4 separate regions of the Homo sapiens genome follow, and regions 2, 3 and 4 are each linked to region 1. Evidence: promoter capture Hi-C in 16 types of primary human blood cells and fetal thymus (Javierre and others, 2016). All regions are on one chromosome and are shown on one strand. Each heading gives the region's core, a stretch centred on a gene start or on the middle of the fragment in contact. The rest is flanking DNA. Distances are from core to core; before and after follow the strand shown.

Region 1 (4,253 bases), core at 360-2,859:
AGTAATCCACCCGCCTCAGACTCCCAAAATGCTGGGATAACAGGCGTGAGCCACTGCACCAGCCACCCCACTTTAACATTTTTAAATTTTCTGGCTTGTGAGCTATGAGAATATATTACCCAGCCAAAAATTATGCTTTAAAAATCTTTTTTTTCGAATTTTTCTTCTACTGAGATAGTAGTTAAAAAAGAACAAGGAATATAATGATGCTAATAAATTTCTACAACACAAGATATAAATGAGACAGAAGTTTAAACAGCTTTAAAAGTTTAAGCTTTTGGCTGGGCACATTGGCTCATGCTTGTAATCCCAGCACTTTGGGAGGCCGAGACAGGCAGATGGTTTGACCTCAGGAGTTTGAGACCAGCCTGGGCAACATGGCCAGACCCCATCTCTTAAAAAAAAAAAAAAAAAATTAAGCTTTTGCTTCAATTTTTTCCATCTGATTTATCAGAAGTACCTGAGGGAATAGAGAGAGGAGATGTAGGGGGTGGCCAAGGAATTGAGAGCTATAAGAAAATAAGGTTTGAATTAGCAGATATGGAGAATGGAAAAGGCGGCTACGAAAATACACTAGACTCAACTAAGAATTTTTTTTTTTTTTTTTTGAGACAGTCTAACTCTGTCACTCAGGCTGTGGTGTAGTGGTGCGATCTCAGCTCACTGCAAACTCCGCCTCCTGGGCTCAAGCGATCGTCCGGCCTCAGCCTCCCGAGTAGCTGGGATTACAGGCGCACGCCATCACACTAGGCTAATTTTTGTATTTTTAGTAGATACAGGATTTCCCCATGTTTGTCAGGTTGGTCTCAAGCGATCTGCACATCTCGGCCTCCCAAAGTGCTGACGGGAGCCACCGCGCTCGGCCACTACTAAGAATTCCATATGCGCAAACAAACAGGTATTATACATTGGCCCAGTGCAGCAGAATACATATCATCTGAGAACTGTGACATTGTGAGAAGAGGAAGTTAAAAGTCATCCTTTAAGACAATTTACTTTGACTTACAAACAGTATGAAGAAATGTCAGACTAAACCGAGTCCCCCCCGCCACCCCCACCCCCCGATATTCTCTGTCCCGGAATATTTCCAGGACCTTCCACACTGCCTGACACAGGCTGACACTCAACAATTGAGCTATTCGTTAAGTCGACTGTGGCTTTAAGGAAAATTTTTAAAGGGTGCCCTTTGCTTCAAATTCAAAACGTAATTTATCTTACGATTCTGCACGCTACTTCACCACAGGAAACGAGGATCAGATCTAACGGAACGAGAAAGTGCAGAGAGCAGCAGTGAACGTAACCTGGAACATTAACACTATGTTCCCTGCACCCTCCGCCTCTCCCTACCCCAGTTTCGTTCCCGGCCTGGTAAGTGTGGGAACAAGGCTGGGGACTGTGCAGCCGGCGCATGGGAAGGCCCCAAATCCTCAATCCAATCAGTTCCCAACGCTTTCCTGCTTAAATGGACCGCCACGGCGTGTGTTTTGAGCGTTCACCTACCCTCATCCGCGTCGTACATATTGCCAAACGGTTCTCGAGCTCCTAACTCTTGAAATCAAAAGACAAAAACCGCCCAGAAGCCAGCAGCGCCAGGAGCTAAAGACGAAGTAACTTCCGTCTCCGACGTTCCCAGAATACCACGCGTCTCACACCAAAGGCCGCCCACAGGGACGCCAAAGTTAGGATCTGCGCCTGCGCAAATTGTAGGTCAAGCTTGGGCCGGGGTTAGGGTTGCACACGCGTAAATTGTGGGCCGCCGCTGCCGGGCTGATTGAGAGGACAGCTCCCGCAATCTGCGGTCGTATCCGTTCCGTCAATGTTTTATTTCTGCTTGTTTTTCAATGTTGTTGCACAAATAACGACACCTGAAAACAAAACCAGGTATACTTATTATTAAAAAGTGTTCGTCCTGTGAATCCGCAACATTGGGATGCTCAATTTATTTGCCTTTATAAGGACCAAAACACGAAGCTATTTTTTATTTTTATTTATTTATTATTTTTTGAAATGGAGTCTCGCTCTGTCGCCCAGGCTGGAGTGCAGTGGAGCGATCTCGGCTCACTGCAACCTCCGTCTCCCGGGTTCAAGCGATTCTCCTGCCTCGGCCTCCCAAATAGCTGGGATTACAGGCAAGGGTCACCACGCCCGGGTAATTTTTGTATTTTTAGTAGAGACGGGGTTTCACCACGTTGGCCAGGCTGGTCTCGAACTGCTGACCTCAGGTGATCCACCCGCCTCGGCCTCCCAAAGTGCTGGGATTACAGGCGTGAGCCACGCGCCCGGCCGGAAGCTCCTTTCTGTTTTTGTTTTGTTTTGTTTTTTTGAGACAGGCTCGCTCTGTCGCCCAGGCTGGAGTGCAGTGGCGCGATCTCGGCTCACTGCAACCTCCGCCTCCCGCGTTCAAGCCATTCTCCTGCCTCAGCCTCCCGAGTAGCTGGGACTACAGGCGCCCGCCACCACGCCTGGCTAATTTTTTGTATTTTTAGCAGAGATGGGGGTTTCACCGTGTAAGCCAGGATGGTCTCGATCTCCTGACCTCATGATCCGCCCGCCTCGGCCTCCCAAATTGCTGGGATTACAGGCGTGAGCCACCGCGCCCGACCCCGGAAGCTCCTTTTTAAGTGTGATTTATTAAGGGCGGCTTGTGCTAGCAGTGAGGCGTTAAGCCTGAAAGTGAAAAAACCCAAAACACTCACTGCTCTTTTCTGCCCACCTAGCTCAATCCTCCAGTGCCTTTGCCATAGCTTTAAGTAGGTTCTCAGTCTCAGAGCTTAAATCGCGAGAACTGACGGGATTAGACGCAAAACCAACCAGGACAGCTCCCAAGTACCCACGCGCTTTCGTCTCGGGTCAAATGCGCGCCTCGGACCCTAGTGCGCGTGCGCGCTGGTGGCTCCGCCCCTTTGGAGCTACTTCCTCATGCTGCCCGCTCGCCTACCGTTCAGGCTGCTGAGCCTTTTCCTTCGTGGATCCGCTCCCACGGCAGCGCGCCATGGCCTCCGGGAGCCGCTCCTGGAGAGGAGGTGCGCTGCCGCCTCCTCCTTCCAGCACTCATCGAGTCTGGGACGCGAGCTTCCTTATGACCCCGTGGACACGGAGGGCTTTGGAGAAGGTGGTGACATGCAGGAGCGTTTTCTGTTCCCGGAGTACATCCTGGATCCGGAGCCGCAACCCACCCGCGAAAAGCAGCTGCAGGAGCTCCAGCAACAGCAGGAGGAGGAGGAGCGACAGAGGCAGCAGCGGCGGGAGGAGCGGCGACAGCAAAACCTACGGGCCAGGTCCCGGGAGCACCCGGTCGTGGGGCACCCGGACCCGGCATTGCCGCCCAGCGGCGTGAACTGCTCGGGCTGTGGGGCAGAGCTGCACTGCCAGGACGCCGGAGTGCCCGGCTACCTGCCCCGAGAGAAGTTCCTCCGCACGGCGGAGGCAGACGGCGGGCTGGCACGGACCGTGTGCCAGCGCTGCTGGCTGCTGTCGCACCACCGGCGCGCTCTACGCCTGCAGGTGAGCCGCGAGCAGTACCTGGAGCTGGTGAGCGCCGCGTTGCGGCGGCCCGGCCCCTCCCTGGTGCTCTACATGGTGGACCTGCTGGACCTGCCCGACGCCCTGCTGCCCGACTTGCCCGCGCTGGTGGGCCCCAAGCAGCTGATCGTGCTGGGAAACAAAGTGGACCTCCTGCCCCAGGATGCTCCTGGCTACCGGCAGAGGCTGCGGGAGCGACTGTGGGAGGACTGTGCCCGCGCCGGGCTCCTGCTGGCCCCTGGCCACCAAGGGCCACAGCGCCCCGTCAAGGACGAGCCACAGGACGGGGAGAATCCGAATCCGCCGAACTGGTCCCGCACAGTGGTCAGGGACGTGCGGCTGATCAGCGCCAAGACCGGCTATGGAGTGGAAGAGTTGATCTCTGCCCTTCAGCGCTCCTGGCGCTACCGTGGGGACGTCTACTTAGTGGGCGCCACCAACGCCGGCAAATCCACTCTCTTTAACACGCTCCTGGAGTCCGATTACTGCACTGCCAAGGGCTCCGAGGCCATCGACAGAGCCACCATCTCCCCTTGGCCAGGTGAGTTTTAGGAGGCTCGCCCTCTTCGTTTCCTGGCAAGGTGGACGTCTGGTCCTGGCCGAGGCACCGAGTACATCCTCCCTTAATGTCCACTGCGGGCTGCCTGTACCCTTCCCTTTACAAATTCTCTCCCCACTCTGGTCACACCTCTCTTCTGTGTCAGCTTACTGCTAGGGAAAATTGAGGATGT
Region 2 (4,093 bases), core at 612-3,111, about 11 Mb before region 1:
TTTATTACTATTCTTATTATTATTTTGAGACAGAGTCTAGCTCTGTTGTCCTGGTTGGGGTGAAAGTGGCACAATCTCAGCTCACTGCAACCTCCGCCTCCCGGGTTCAAGCAATTCTGCCTTAGCCTCCCGAGTAGCTGGGACTACAGGCGCATGCCATCATGCCTGGCTAATTTTTGTATTTTTAGCAGAGACGGGGTTTCACCATATTGGTCAGGCTGGTCTCAAACTCCTGACCACAGGTGATCCGCCCGCCTGGGCCTCCCGAAGTGCTGGGATTACAGGTATGAGCCACTGCATCTGGCCTGCAAATATTTTCATATGAATCATGAAATTATAAGAAATTCTTTAAAAAGCAAAACTTATTAAAACTAAAAATACAAATAGCAATTCCTCAGGATCATCAGATATTATTTAATGTGTGTGTGTGTGTGTGTTTGTGGCGTGTGCGTGTTCGTATATTCAAATTAGTGTTCAATTAAGGTCCTAGAAATGGGGCCACTCCTGGTGGCTTCACACCTGTAATCCCGCACTTTGGGAGGCCGAGGTGGGAGGATTGCTGGAGCCCAGGATTTAGACACTAGCCTGGGCAAGATGGCTAGGTGTTAGCCATCTTGCGGAGATGGTATATCTCCACAAAAAATGCAAAAAATGTGTCGGATGTGGTGGAGCATGCCTGTAGTTCCAGCTACCTGGGAGGTTAAGGTGGGAGGATCACTTGAGCCCAAGGTTGCAGTGAGCCATGATCACACCACTGCACTCCAGCCTGTGTCACAGTGAGACCACGTCTCAAAAAAAAAGAGGTACCACATTCTAGACTTCTAGACTACTTGTCTTTCCCTGAATATGCAGTTAGTTTGCCAGTTTGTCTTCATATCACGAAGTTACTTAGTTACCTTTTTCAGATTTTTCTTTCCCTTATAACTCAGTTATAGTTCAAGGAAGCAAAATTAGATTGTTTCCGTTGGACAATGAATCTTAAGCAAGTTTCTCTTGCAGATTTTACCACACTATGTAGTTATGTATCTACTGGTCATTTATTCTGTAGTTTCGATTCCTCGATGGTCTGCTTAAATCAATTTTGTGCCCCAGGGCCTTGATAACATGTTTAAATTAGTTATTAATTACAAAGACCTATTATGATACAATTCTTTCCCCAATTAAAAACAAAACTAGGCCGGGCGTGGTAGCTCACGCCTGTAATCCCAGCACTTCATCCTGGCCAACATGGTGAAATCCCGTCTCTACTAAAAATAAAAAAATTAACTGGGCGTGGTGGCGGGCGCCTGTAGTCCCAGCTACTCAGGAGGCAGAGCCAGGAGAATCGCTTGAACCTGGGAGGCGGAGGTTGCGGTGAGCCGAGATCGCGCTGCTGCACTCCAACCTAGCGACAGAGCGAGACTCCGTCTCAAAACAAACAAAAACTAGCAGGCTTTTGTGACTACAAACAAGCTGGTTGCATGCTGCACTGCCTTTGGGTAAGAGTGGAACTCCAACTAAGAAAGTACATCTGGTAAACATAAGGGATTCACCCAGACTTGTCCTAAATAAGACTCCGATTACCCGAACTGAATCAGGAGTCCTTTAGAGCGACTCTAGCTAAGAAGGCCTGTTAGGCCCTGCACTAAGAGTTTCAGGTGGGAAAATTGCGCCATCCAGTTATAGGCCGTACAGCGGGAACTCCATGAACAACCTGGGTAACCTAATCCCTGAATAAGACTCCTTCCAGGTACCAGTGGGCTGAGGGCGGCAGGGCGACGCGCTGACGTCACGTCACGTTCCTTTGCACGTCCCCGCCTCCCCGCCCCTCTCCGCACTGTGACGTTCCCAGAGAGGAACGAAGCGTAAACAGCGCAGGGCATTTCGGGAGCGGGATTGTTTCGCGCAGGAAGCAGGCTCCATTTTAGCGCCGCCCGCCGTCGCCATCTGTTTCCCTTCCCTCCCCCATACCTAGCCCGAGTCTGAGCCCTAACGAGAAGGCTGGGCCTAGGCCGCTGGATGCTGGAGTGAAAGGAAGGGAGAAAGGGAAAAAGCGGGAAGAGTCGAGAAGGCTGAGTGTTAAGAGGCCAAGTGCGACGCGCGTATCCGGGCAGACGGACTGACGGACGGGCCCGTGCTTCTGCCGCGGCTGCGGCGCCCGCGCGAGTCGCGTCTAAGCGGCGGCGGCGGTGGCAGCGGCGGAAACCGAAGGGGAGCCATGGCGGCTGACAGTCGGGAGGAGAAAGGTTAGTGCGGAGAAAGATGACGGGCCGAGGCGAGGCTGGGGCCCGGGAGTGGGGTGATGGAGCAGTGGTCGTCGTTGGGGGTGGGGGGTGGGGGTTGGGGAGGTTAGCTGGCCTCGCGAGGAGCCGGTGGCCCCCACCGAGACACTTAGACTCTGGCGGAGACCAGGCCTGCCCTTTCGTCCTCAGTCTCCATATGGCCTAGCACTTCATCTCAGTAGGGTTTTTCTTTGATGCGGATTTCACGCTTGACTTTCCGTTTAGCTGTCTTGGGCTGAGAGGGGCCCTTTCTGAGTTGCAAGCTCCTAGGTTTATTTCCTGGTAGGATCATGCGGATGTAACGCGTATTTTCAGGACAACCATTTCTGTTAGGCTAAAATTTGAAAACCCCTAATGCCGCGATCAACACTGGTGGTGTGGTAAGTGAGCAAGTTTAGGAAGTGGCACTGGCAGGTTATTAATCTTGAGAAATATCTGCAAATAACTTCTGGCTGTTCCTGTTAAATAGGCAAAGTGAATTACCCGTTTTGTTCCTCGAATACTTATTTTGGAAAAACATAGTACTTGGAAAAAGGAATACTTAGTTTGGAAAGATGACTGTGTGACTTAGGCTGGCAAAGAAATCCTGGGTGCTATTATGTTAGAAAAACCGTGTGTAGCTCCCAGAGGGTACAGTCAGAAACAAATGAATGCAAGTTACAGAGAGTTGGAGGGATAAATTTCAGTGAAATGTAGAGAGAACTGACGTTGCTGTAATGGAAAGATAGTAATACTAAGTTCCCAAGCCCTAGAGATATTAATGTAGGTCCTAGATCAGTGTCTCTCTGGAGAGTGGTCTAGATTAAATGCTGCTTTAAGATCTTTTTCAACCCTAAGATTAACATAATAGTCTTGGAAAGATTATAGTTAAAAATATGACACGGTCGCTGCTCTGTGTCTCACACATCTCTTCTGTGTGCCTAATTGATTTGGGGTTTTTTTGTCGGGGGTTGTTAAGTGGGCTCTAGAGTCAAGTTACATTAGGCGTGTAATCCTTTTTTCTTAATTTTTCTGGTTTCTGCATCAGGAGAGTCTTCATGCTTCAATGAACTGCCCTAGGTTAGGGACAAGCTGGGAAAGTGGAATGGGTGGGAATACTTTTAAGATACTGCCCTTATCCTAAAGTAGTTCTTTGATTAGGTTATAGCAGTTTAATGTTCCATCCTTAAACTAAATGCTAAAAAATCTCCCTGGGCCTTTTTTTTTTTTTTTTTTGAGAAATCCAGAAGTAATGGGAACATAGGATTGTATGGTGTTAGTGAGTAAAGGAAAATGCTTTTAATTAGTTAACTCAGTTATTAAAATACATGATCTTAATTAGTAAGTATTCAGCAAACATCTGATTGTCTTTCTAATTTATGAACTGTGGATATGGGAGTCTGTAGTGGTTGTGGTGGGCGAAATGAACCAAACACAAAAATGAGTAAAATTCAGTACTTCTCAAGAATTCGTTGTCTAAGATGAAAATATTTACAAGTCGTTAATAGAGTAGACGCAGTAATGCACATTGAAGAAGAAAAGTAGATGATTTTAAAAGTTTTGCTTTAGAAATGATTTAGTGATGATAATGCAGTCCAAATACATAAACTGTGTAGCTATTACTGGGAAGTAGTGATATCACCTGTTGTCTATACATAGGATACATTTCCCCACTTTTGAAAAGGTTCTTTGCCTCACATTTGCTTAGTTTTTTTTATTTAATTTTCATAACTTTATTTAAAAACTTGATGTAAGTGCTTTATCTTTATAGTTTAGAACAAAGATTGTTTCTGGACTACACGGAGAACTAGCACTTACCTACTGGAATTGTTTATTTCGTTTTGGGAGAGTTC
Region 3 (4,261 bases), core at 568-3,067, about 19 Mb before region 1:
TACTCAATTTTCAAGCTGGTTCAAATTTTTCTAAAATAAGGTAGGATATATATGCTCAGTTTTGATTTATTATATCTAACAAAATAGCTAGGAGATCTTTCTCTAACACATAGGACAGTGCCTGGCACAAAAGCAGCAAAATAAACCTTTAACAAGTGAACAACTATTAAATCTTATTACTCCTTCACTTACTCCTTCATGGCTGTCAAGAGAATGGCTAAAATATGAAACTAAAATCATTTTGATTTATTTGCAACACAGCTAAAGATCCCTTGGTCTTAACTTGTAATTTGTATTTTTTCTCTATAACCTATGCTTGATCTACTTCTAAATAGAGAGGGCAATATATTCGAGCAAAGCTCCTTCATTCAGATTGTAAACTACATGTAAACAACATTGAATTTCTTTGGCGGTGTGATAAAATACAAAGTAATAATATTAGCAAAAGTTAGCCTTATGGTATTTTTTGTAAACCAGTCTCTGATATCTTAAAGTCTCTGATATCTTAAAACTTTTAAACTAAATTATAAACATGTAAAGGTATCACATTGTCACTTCAAATTTAACAAAAAGGTTATTTAAAAAGGACTCGGGAACTAAAGTTCAAAATTGAAGACTTAAGTAGAACTGTCTTTTGCTTTTTATAACATGGCCAAAGTATTTGGCTTAACTACAGCAAAATCTTACACGTGAAATGTCAGTCCTTTTAACTTCGAATTTGGCAAGCAGCGAGAAGCACATCCAATGGCGGAGCAGCATTTCACCATTTTAGCAACTCATAACAAAACTGAAAGAAAATTAGAATGTTAAGAGTTAGTAACCGGAAAGCTGAAGGGGAATATTTTCCCTTTCCCGGTGTTTTAGGAAACACAAAATCAGGATAGAAAGCTAAAGACAAATATCTTCTTCTAACACCTGCAGCTTTGCTTACATCATTTTCCAGGGCCTTGACTCTTTAATAAGGAGAAACATATTTAGCTGTGTACCCCGAGTATGATTTCAATTTTGTTGGCTTGTACATTTTCCTTCCACCTTCTAACAGGTACCATGTTCTTTGTGCCACAAAGCCTTTTGCACACTAACTCCTACCCATCTTTCAGCCCTCGGCTTGCATCGCTTCCCCAGGGAAGCCTTCCCTCACTGACACTCAGATTGTCAGAGCTGCTCTAATATTAGCTCTCACAGGACACACACTTCTTCCTAGCACTTCTCCAGGTTGTAATCTTACATTTATTGCAGTGATTGCTCTTATTAATGTCTTCCTCCTCCACCAGTCTTGTTAGTTCCATGAGGTCATGGTGGAGTGTGTCTATTTTTCCTTACTTTTTGTCCTCACGGTTTAGCTGGTGACTGGCAATAGTGAATGTCAGTACATATTTTGAAAGAACAGCAAGTAAACGGGAAAGGGAGGAAGCAAGAAGCACTTCGAGGTGCCAGCGAGCACCCTGGCGTCCAAGAGCAGCGCGCGGGACCCGCTGAGCCCAGGGCCCGGGCCGAGCTCCGCCCCTTTCTCCAGGCTCCCCGCCACCGGAGGGAGAGAGGGAGGACCCGTCACAGGTAACGATGCGCCCAGTGAGCGTCCTTTCCTCTGGGGCCAACCAGCGTCTCCGCGCCGCTGCCGCCAACCTCGCGCCGAACTACGCCCTGAGATTTGGGCGGGTAGCGATTGGGGGAAAACAGGCAACCTAAGAGTTATTACCGTTAGCAGCGAAGACTGCGACTAACGTCAACGACGGAGACTGCGTCTGCCTTCGCTTCCGCCTCGTAGCCCCGGGAACCGGAAATCCGTCTGCCCCGGGTCACGTGCTTAGGAGCCATATTGTCGCTAGTGGCCGCTGGGGCTGGGAGGGGTGTGCTAGAGAGGCGCAGCTTCTCTGGGCGTGGTTTTTATCCTGGGGGAAGGATCGGTGGAATGTGAGGGGAGGTGGAGGAGATGGCGGCGACGGCCCGGGAAGATGGCGCCAGCGGTCAAGAGCGAGGTCAGCGGGGCTGCGAGCACTATGACAGAGGATGTCTCCTAAAGGTGACGCCTTCTATGGACTCTTCCCTGACAAGCTTCCGTCAGGTTGGGCTGGGGCGGGCTGGGCAGGTGGTTAGGCTTGGATTTAAGTTTGAGGTTAACCTGATTTTCAGGATACCTTTTCCACCTGGAACTGGGTTCTTCTTGAGGAGAACGTTTTTGGCAAGGCGATAAGCCCCACCTTTCCTACCTGCTTCGTACCTTTAAAGCAAAACCCTTCTTGGGAAGTGATTAGGCTTGCACAGTGGTCTCTGCCAGTGGGCTTATTCGTCTTTTGCTGCCGAAGTAGACTGAGGCAGCCCCGGGCCTGTACTGGGGTTTTCCGTTCAGGTGTGTGATGAAATAATGGAAGTGGAGATAATGGAAATAAGCAAGTGGAGAACCCGAATACGATTTCAGCTCCTGTGGTAAAGTTTTATAGCCTGCCAGCTTCATGTTAAAGGCAGTGCACATGTTCAGACGTAGGAGAAAACGTGTGTCCCAAAAAAGAAGACAATCATGTAATTGCCATTAAATAGGAAATTATGCATAGGAAAGTGCCTAATAAGCATGTATTGTTACTCTGAGAAAACTTCTTAATCTGTATTTTTTTTTAAATTGGCACGTATTCAATTGAAGTTTCCTGATTTTCCTTGCAAGAAACAGTACAAAAATTTTGCTTAGAAAACTTGAGCTTTGGAACCTCAACCGCCCTATCCCCAAATCTTAGCTCTCCTCTTTAATAACTGATTTTAGCTAGCTCCTCTCTACCCCGTATGTAAAATGGAGATGATCGCGCCTGTTTCATAAAAGTGTATGAGGATTATATACTAAAGGGCGTGTATAGTGTTTAACAGGGCGCATTCCCTGAAGTAAATGAGTAGTAAATATATACCACCATGACTGTTACTATCATCGTCAATCTGAGTATTATTATTTTTTGTTCTTTCACTTCACAAGTCAGCCTTGCTGGTCACTGCCTCATTATTAGAAGCAAGTTCAAGTCTCAGGCCTGTACGTGCATCCTAAACTCTTTTCTATAGGTCATGGCTTGACGAACATTGCTCCACTGAACTGGATGAAGCTCCTTAAAAATGTTGGTCATCCACCAAGTGTTGTGTAAGGAAATTGAATGCTATCCTTATGATTCAATTTCTACTGAGATGTATTATTATTCTTTCAAACTTGAGGTCTAAAACGGAATTTAACATCTTGGTGCCCCCCATAAACCACACAATTAGATCTGTGTATCATAGCACTAAGATACTTCGCCCTAGGTGTCAAACAGTTTTTGCCTTCCCCCGCCCCCCCCCCCCCCTTAAATACCAGAGGCCAAGTGAAGTATTTCAAGGAGGATGTGGTCAGCTGGGTCAAATGCAGCTGTTTGAGTAAGATAACTGAGAATTGCCCTTTGGATTTGGCAAGGAAGAGGTCACTGGTGATCTTGACAAGAGGAGTTTTAGTGGAGAGATCAGGATTAGAGTGAATTTAGGAAAGAATGGGAGGAGTGGAATTGAAAATAGCACTTATAGGGTATTCTTGGGGTTTAGCTGTAAAGGGGAGCAAAAAAAAGATGTGGTTGCTGGGAGATCTGGCACCATATTTTTTCCTCTTTAAGAGAGGAAGTATTACAGCATGTTTGTATATTCTAGGAAATGATACAATAGAGTGAGAACGTTTTATAATGCAGGAGAGAGTGAGAAAACTGTAAGGGCATTGTCCCTGAGTAGCCAAAGGGGATGAAATCCAGTGCACAAGTGAAGGAGTTGGCCTTAGAAACATAGACTGTCAGTTCTTCCTAAGGGAAGGCAGAGAATGAGGTATATTTGCAAGTAAGTTAATAGAGATAATAGGAGGATGTTCTTTTCAGGCCTGTCAGCAGGAAGTATGTTTACTGTTTTTATAGTGAAATAAGGTCATCAGCAGAGTGTTAAGGAGGAAGAGTTGTTAGAGTTTTAAAGCCAGAGGAGAAGAAGTGAAATGATCATCTAAATCTTAGGTCTTAGACTCTGGAAGAATGAGAGAATTGACCAGGGAAACGTGGTAGTAAGTGTCCACCTCATATGAACCAGCAAGGACGGTGATGCTTTTTCTCTAGCCATATTCACCTGCTTCTGATAGAAGTCAAATAGGATTTAACTAGGGTTGGGATTGTTATCTATGAGTGTAGAGGAACTGAGAAGGGAACTAGGGTGTTGCAAGGGGAGACTTGGAGTAAGTTAGGGAGGAGGTAATGGTTAGAGAATTTCATGCTTGGAATTG
Region 4 (4,447 bases), core at 727-3,226, about 16 Mb before region 1:
AAACTCCGCCTCGCAGGTTCAAGCGATTCTCCTGCTTCAGCCTCCTGAGTATAGAATACTTTTTAAAGAAAGAAAGTTTGCTTGTGAAGGAAATAATTGAAAGCTACAGAAGAATTAGCTAAGGAACCAGAATTTGTAGAAGGTTGACAACAGAAAAGATAATAAATGCATGAGAAAGAGGGGTATTGGAACTAGAATATGTATGAAGAGTTTATCTCATATATGAACAGGGAGTCTCTCATTCGTTGATACTGGAGAAAAGGCAATCTCAGGAAATTTCTAGCACTTGGAAAATTGTGAAGTCTAAGTTAAAAGTCATATAATAAAATGGGCTGGGATTTAAAGATTGCGAAAAGTATTCAAGTGGAAAGGGAGAAAAAGATGCTGAAGAATATACAAAGTAGGAGGGAGGGATGCAGCTGAAATTATAAAATCTAAATCAGTAGTGGTGAGATACACAATGCAGTGCTCTGTTCTACACTGGAACTCAGCAACGACTGTAGGAGAGGAATAGGCAGATGGTTACCACTCCGTATATATATTTACTATAGCACTTATTACACTGTAAAGCCCCTGGAAACAAGAGACTTTGATTCCACAAATTATGCGCACAGTAGGCACATGATGAATTTTTGTTTGAATGAATTGATTTAGTCATTGCCAATTCTGCCTTGGTACTCTGTAGAGTACTGGCAACTGCCCACATTTCATATGGTATGCCAATGCTAAAAAGAAAAAAAATGCTAAAAAAAAAAAAAATCCAGGCATATTCAGCTAAACTAAGCAGTCTTAAAATGGCAACTATGTCAGCTGAGACATACTTTTAATCTTGTGCCAGTACATCTGTCTTTGATGTTTGCTTCATTTTCCGTATGCCACTATACTCCTACTAGACCAGAAAGGGATAATTCTGAGTTCAATGGGCTCCACTATCATTTCAAAAGTCCTGAAACTTCTTCAGACACCTAAAAATGAACCCACAACTCCCATAACAGCATTCCTTCCGAGAGAAGTATACAGACAACAATCACTATTTATGCTTGCTTCCAAGCTGAATCGAAGAGGGCCGGAAGAGCTAAATCAGGGTCATTCAGTGAATCGTCTACAAAGTCTGGCACAGACCACGCATCCTTCCCGTGTCTTCCTCCCCTTGGAAACTTGAGGTGTAAGTAATGATCTTAGACATCTCCTAATCGACTGCCTTCATATTACACACGTGTAAACTCAGGTAGAGGATGTCTATGAGCCGAGCTTAAACTCAGGTAAAGAAGGCTCTTTTCCCAACACGACGCCATCTCTCATGATCCAAAGCTCTATCTCTCGATTTGGCGGTGGAAAAAAATGACCAGGAATAAAACTACGTACAGCAGTCCAGAACGAGGCCCCACCTCCCGGATCTGGCGGACCGGCCTCCCGTCAGCAAAGTGTCTGGACCGCGCTTCCGCACCTCACACTGCCCGGGGCCGGCTCCTCTCCAGCCTCCCCGTACTCCCCACACGCCGCAGCACTGCGCGCCCGCGGGGCCCCAGACCCGGCCCTTGAAATCTCACTTTCGCCTTTCGGCCACCCGCGCGCCACGGCTCAGGCGACGGCTGATGGCGTCACTGCACTTCCGCCTGCGGCTGCGTTCTAATCACAAGCCAGGAAGGAAGAAGGGAGGGCTGCAGGGCTGTGTGTGCGGGAAATAGCGAGGAAAGAGAAGAAATCCGGGAGCTCGCGGGCGCTCTGGTTGCAATCGCGCCCCCCTCATCTGTCCCCGCCGTTCCCCTTCGGAAGCTGCCCCAGGCACACTTCCCCGCTTCTTTCCAGTCTCCTCTCCTCTGGTTCTCCCGACACCCGGTCTCCCTGTTACGCCTCACCCTCCTTCCCTTGCTCCCTCCCTCTCCCTCCCTCCCTCCCTCCCATCGTCAGGCTCCCCGCCCTTAGTATCGCGAGACGAGGTGAGAGCTGGCGGAGCGGCGGCGGCGGCGGCGGCAGTAGAGGTGACCGAGGCGGTGGCGGCGGAGGCGGCACCGATTGCTGTGTCGGCCCCAGTGCGGCCGAAGTCGCGGTAGAGCGTAGCCCCACGCCCCTCCCCCGTCCGCGCCCTCCCTCTTTCCCTGGGGATGGAGAAGGCGACGGTTCCGGTGGCGGCGGCGACGGCTGCAGAAGGAGAAGGGAGCCCCCCGGCGGTGGCGGCTGTGGCGGGCCCCCCCGCGGCGGCGGAGGTCGGCGGCGGCGTTGGCGGCAGCAGCAGAGCTCGCTCGGCCTCGTCTCCTCGTGGGATGGTGCGAGTCTGCGACCTGCTCCTGAAGAAGAAGCCGCCGCAGCAGCAGCACCACAAGGCCAAGCGTAACCGGACTTGCCGACCCCCCAGCAGCAGCGAAAGCAGCAGCGACAGCGACAACAGCGGCGGCGGTGGAGGCGGCGGTGGAGGCGGAGGTGGCGGCGGCGGCACCAGCAGTAACAACAGCGAGGAAGAAGAGGACGACGACGACGAGGAAGAGGAGGTTTCTGAGGCAAGGGCCTGGTTTCAAAGGAAGGAGGGAGGAAGGGACTGTAAGGGATAGGGGCCGAAGGTGGGAGGGGATTTGGAGTGGGACAGATTCCAGTGGGTTGATCTCTTAGGGGCCAGGCTTTCGACTGCCCCCTTTCTTCCCTCGGCCTAAATCGTGAGGTGTGGGAATGTGGGGGAGGGTAGCTGACACGTGGGGGTGGGAGGACCACGGAGTTCACAGAGTTGGTGAACAGCCTGTTATCATGGGATGGCTCACTTGGTTAAGGATGGAGGGAATTGGTTAGATTCCCTGTTTGCACGCCGGGGGGTGGGGGGGTGGTCTGCCTGGGGCCAGTAGGGCCACCTTAGTCTGAGGCGGGATCGGGATCAAAGCGGGAGGAGTAAAATAATGGGTAAATGAGTCTCTTGGGGACCAACTAGGAGGTTGATCAACTTCTCCCAGTTGTGAGGTGGAGGGGAGCAGTTTGAGGGGGGACGTAAGGTTGTAATGGACTCAGAGCTAAGTGTTTGTGTATGTGAGGGACACGTGAGAAGCTGTACTTTTCCATACTGTTCTGCAGGGTTTTTCGTAACTATCCTGGCTGCTGAAGTAACTTCATTTCCTCGATCTCCCAGGGATTTTCGATGAACTGATGCTGTATTTGTATAAATTTATCAGTAACTTTAAATAATTACAAATGACCATATACATTTGTAAGTGGATGAAAAATATATTTGATCCTTACACGTACATACATACATGCCTTCGAATGTTTCCTTAGTGAGTTAGAATTAAGCTAGGACCTGTTGTCCCGTAATATGGGACAGCCAAAGGGTAGGCTTTGGAGCCAGGCCTGGTTGTGGTGAGTTGGAATAGGAAGGCCTCTCGGTTTGTCCTAGTGATCTGGTTTCATAATAACTTTATAATTTTTCCTGGGTCCACAGACAGGCGGCGTTGCAGGACCTTATTCCTCACAGAAGCCCTTACAACCCAAAGGCTCAGTAAAACATACCATACTGACAACCAACTGAGAGTTAGCTTTACTAGTTATTAGCTGTTTTACCACTCTCTTGTCTCCTTCCTGAAATAGAATCTAGAAAAATCTTTATTTGGAGAGGGAAATCTTTATCAGCAGAGGGAAAACAGCTTTAAAGGCTGATTTTAAACTTAGTTCTAAGAGGAGACCAAGTGATTCATCTAAAAGTACCACTTACTATTTATTCTCTTCCACAAACATGGAACTTATTTTGATGCAAGTCTGGTTTTCCGAAAATTGGAATTATTGAATCCTGGTCTCTGTTGAAATAGAGAAGTACCTTTTAAAGGATTTGACACATGTCTATTTGTAGAAGACCAGATTCTCTTTTATCTCAGACTGGATGAAGTTGTATAGGTAGAGATATTAAGTGCTGAAGTATGTATGACAAAAATATGCCAGTCCTTGTTTTTATTCCCTTTTAGCCTGTTGGATTCTGAGAATAGGTTTGTATTGATAGACTTATATTGGCCTACTTGGATGTTTAGGATAGTGTGTTGCTCTGGCGGCATTTGAAACAAGGAAGAGAAAGATGTAATGGGGTCCTTATCCCTAATAAAATTTGTTATGGTACTTAGAATCATTCAATTGTATGATTCTTCTCAAAGGTGAGAAACATTTTACAGGTAATTCAGCCCTTTATTTTAAAAAGGAGGAAAACAAGGTTTAGAGGAAAGTGGTTGTGGTGGGTAGTAGCAAAAGTACAAATCAAAGTTTTCTAATGTCTCAGACCTGTACACTTTTTAATAATAATTTATTTCCTTTTATCACCCTCCTGATATCATTCAGAAAAATAGTTACTGAATAGCAAGGTAACACAATCATGCAGCTATAGGCAAAATACCATTACTTAAAATTTTAAATTCTCGTGAAACTATTAAGCTCTGGTTTAGAGCAAGGTTATGATAGTTGAATGCAGTACTTACTGGGATAT

What was found. Contacts are between HindIII fragments. The CHiCAGO score rates a contact against its expected background, and 5 or more counts as called.
Region 2: the fragment with the promoter of YTHDC1 here is called in contact with the fragment with the promoter of POLR2B in region 1 in 1 of 17 cell types (fetal thymus); the score reaches 5.6 in fetal thymus.
Region 3: a contact is called between the fragment with the promoter of RCHY1 here and the fragment with the promoter of POLR2B in region 1, in 1 of 17 cell types (fetal thymus). The highest score is 13.5, in fetal thymus.
Region 4: a contact is called between the fragment with the promoter of ANKRD17 here and the fragment with the promoter of POLR2B in region 1, in 1 of 17 cell types (total B cells). The highest score is 6.2, in total B cells.

The regions. Positions count from the first base shown.
Region 1 is chr4:56,976,252-56,980,504 of GRCh38, reverse strand. It overlaps POLR2B (RNA polymerase II subunit B), which reads right to left and starts at 1,609. Exons shown (of 25, transcript NM_000938.3): 1 at 1,501-1,609. The coding sequence starts at 1,519. NOA1 (nitric oxide associated 1) reads left to right here and starts at 2,899. Exons shown (of 7, transcript NM_032313.4): 1 at 2,899-4,063. The coding sequence starts at 2,920. RefSeq lists enhancers at 1,236-1,335, 3,157-3,226, 3,607-3,666 and a silencer at 3,327-3,406. The HindIII fragment of the contact is 1,293 bases long and covers 423-1,715 here.
Region 2 is chr4:68,347,858-68,351,950 of GRCh38, reverse strand. It overlaps YTHDC1 (YTH N6-methyladenosine RNA binding protein C1), which reads left to right and starts at 1,861. Exons shown (of 17, transcript NM_001031732.4): 1 at 1,861-2,225. The coding sequence starts at 2,198. RefSeq lists an enhancer at 1,913-2,492. The HindIII fragment of the contact is 7,711 bases long and covers 1-4,093 here.
Region 3 is chr4:75,511,959-75,516,219 of GRCh38, reverse strand. RCHY1 (ring finger and CHY zinc finger domain containing 1) reads left to right here and starts at 1,817. Exons shown (of 9, transcript NM_015436.4): 1 at 1,817-2,023. The coding sequence starts at 1,934. THAP6 (THAP domain containing 6) reads right to left here and starts at 1,747. Exons shown (of 5, transcript NM_144721.6): 1 at 1,700-1,747; 2 at 688-787. The coding sequence starts at 767. RefSeq lists enhancers at 1,052-1,271, 847-1,777, 1,612-2,091, 1,778-2,708. The HindIII fragment of the contact is 8,040 bases long and covers 1-2,057 here.
Region 4 is chr4:73,256,327-73,260,773 of GRCh38, reverse strand. ANKRD17 (ankyrin repeat domain 17) reads left to right here and starts at 1,976. Exons shown (of 34, transcript NM_032217.5): 1 at 1,976-2,498. The coding sequence starts at 2,106. It overlaps ANKRD17-DT (ANKRD17 divergent transcript), which reads right to left and starts at 1,608. Exons shown (of 5, transcript NR_187399.1): 1 at 1,366-1,608. RefSeq lists enhancers at 1,455-1,724, 1,327-1,923, 4,324-4,447 and a silencer at 1,885-2,284. The HindIII fragment of the contact is 8,436 bases long and covers 1-4,447 here.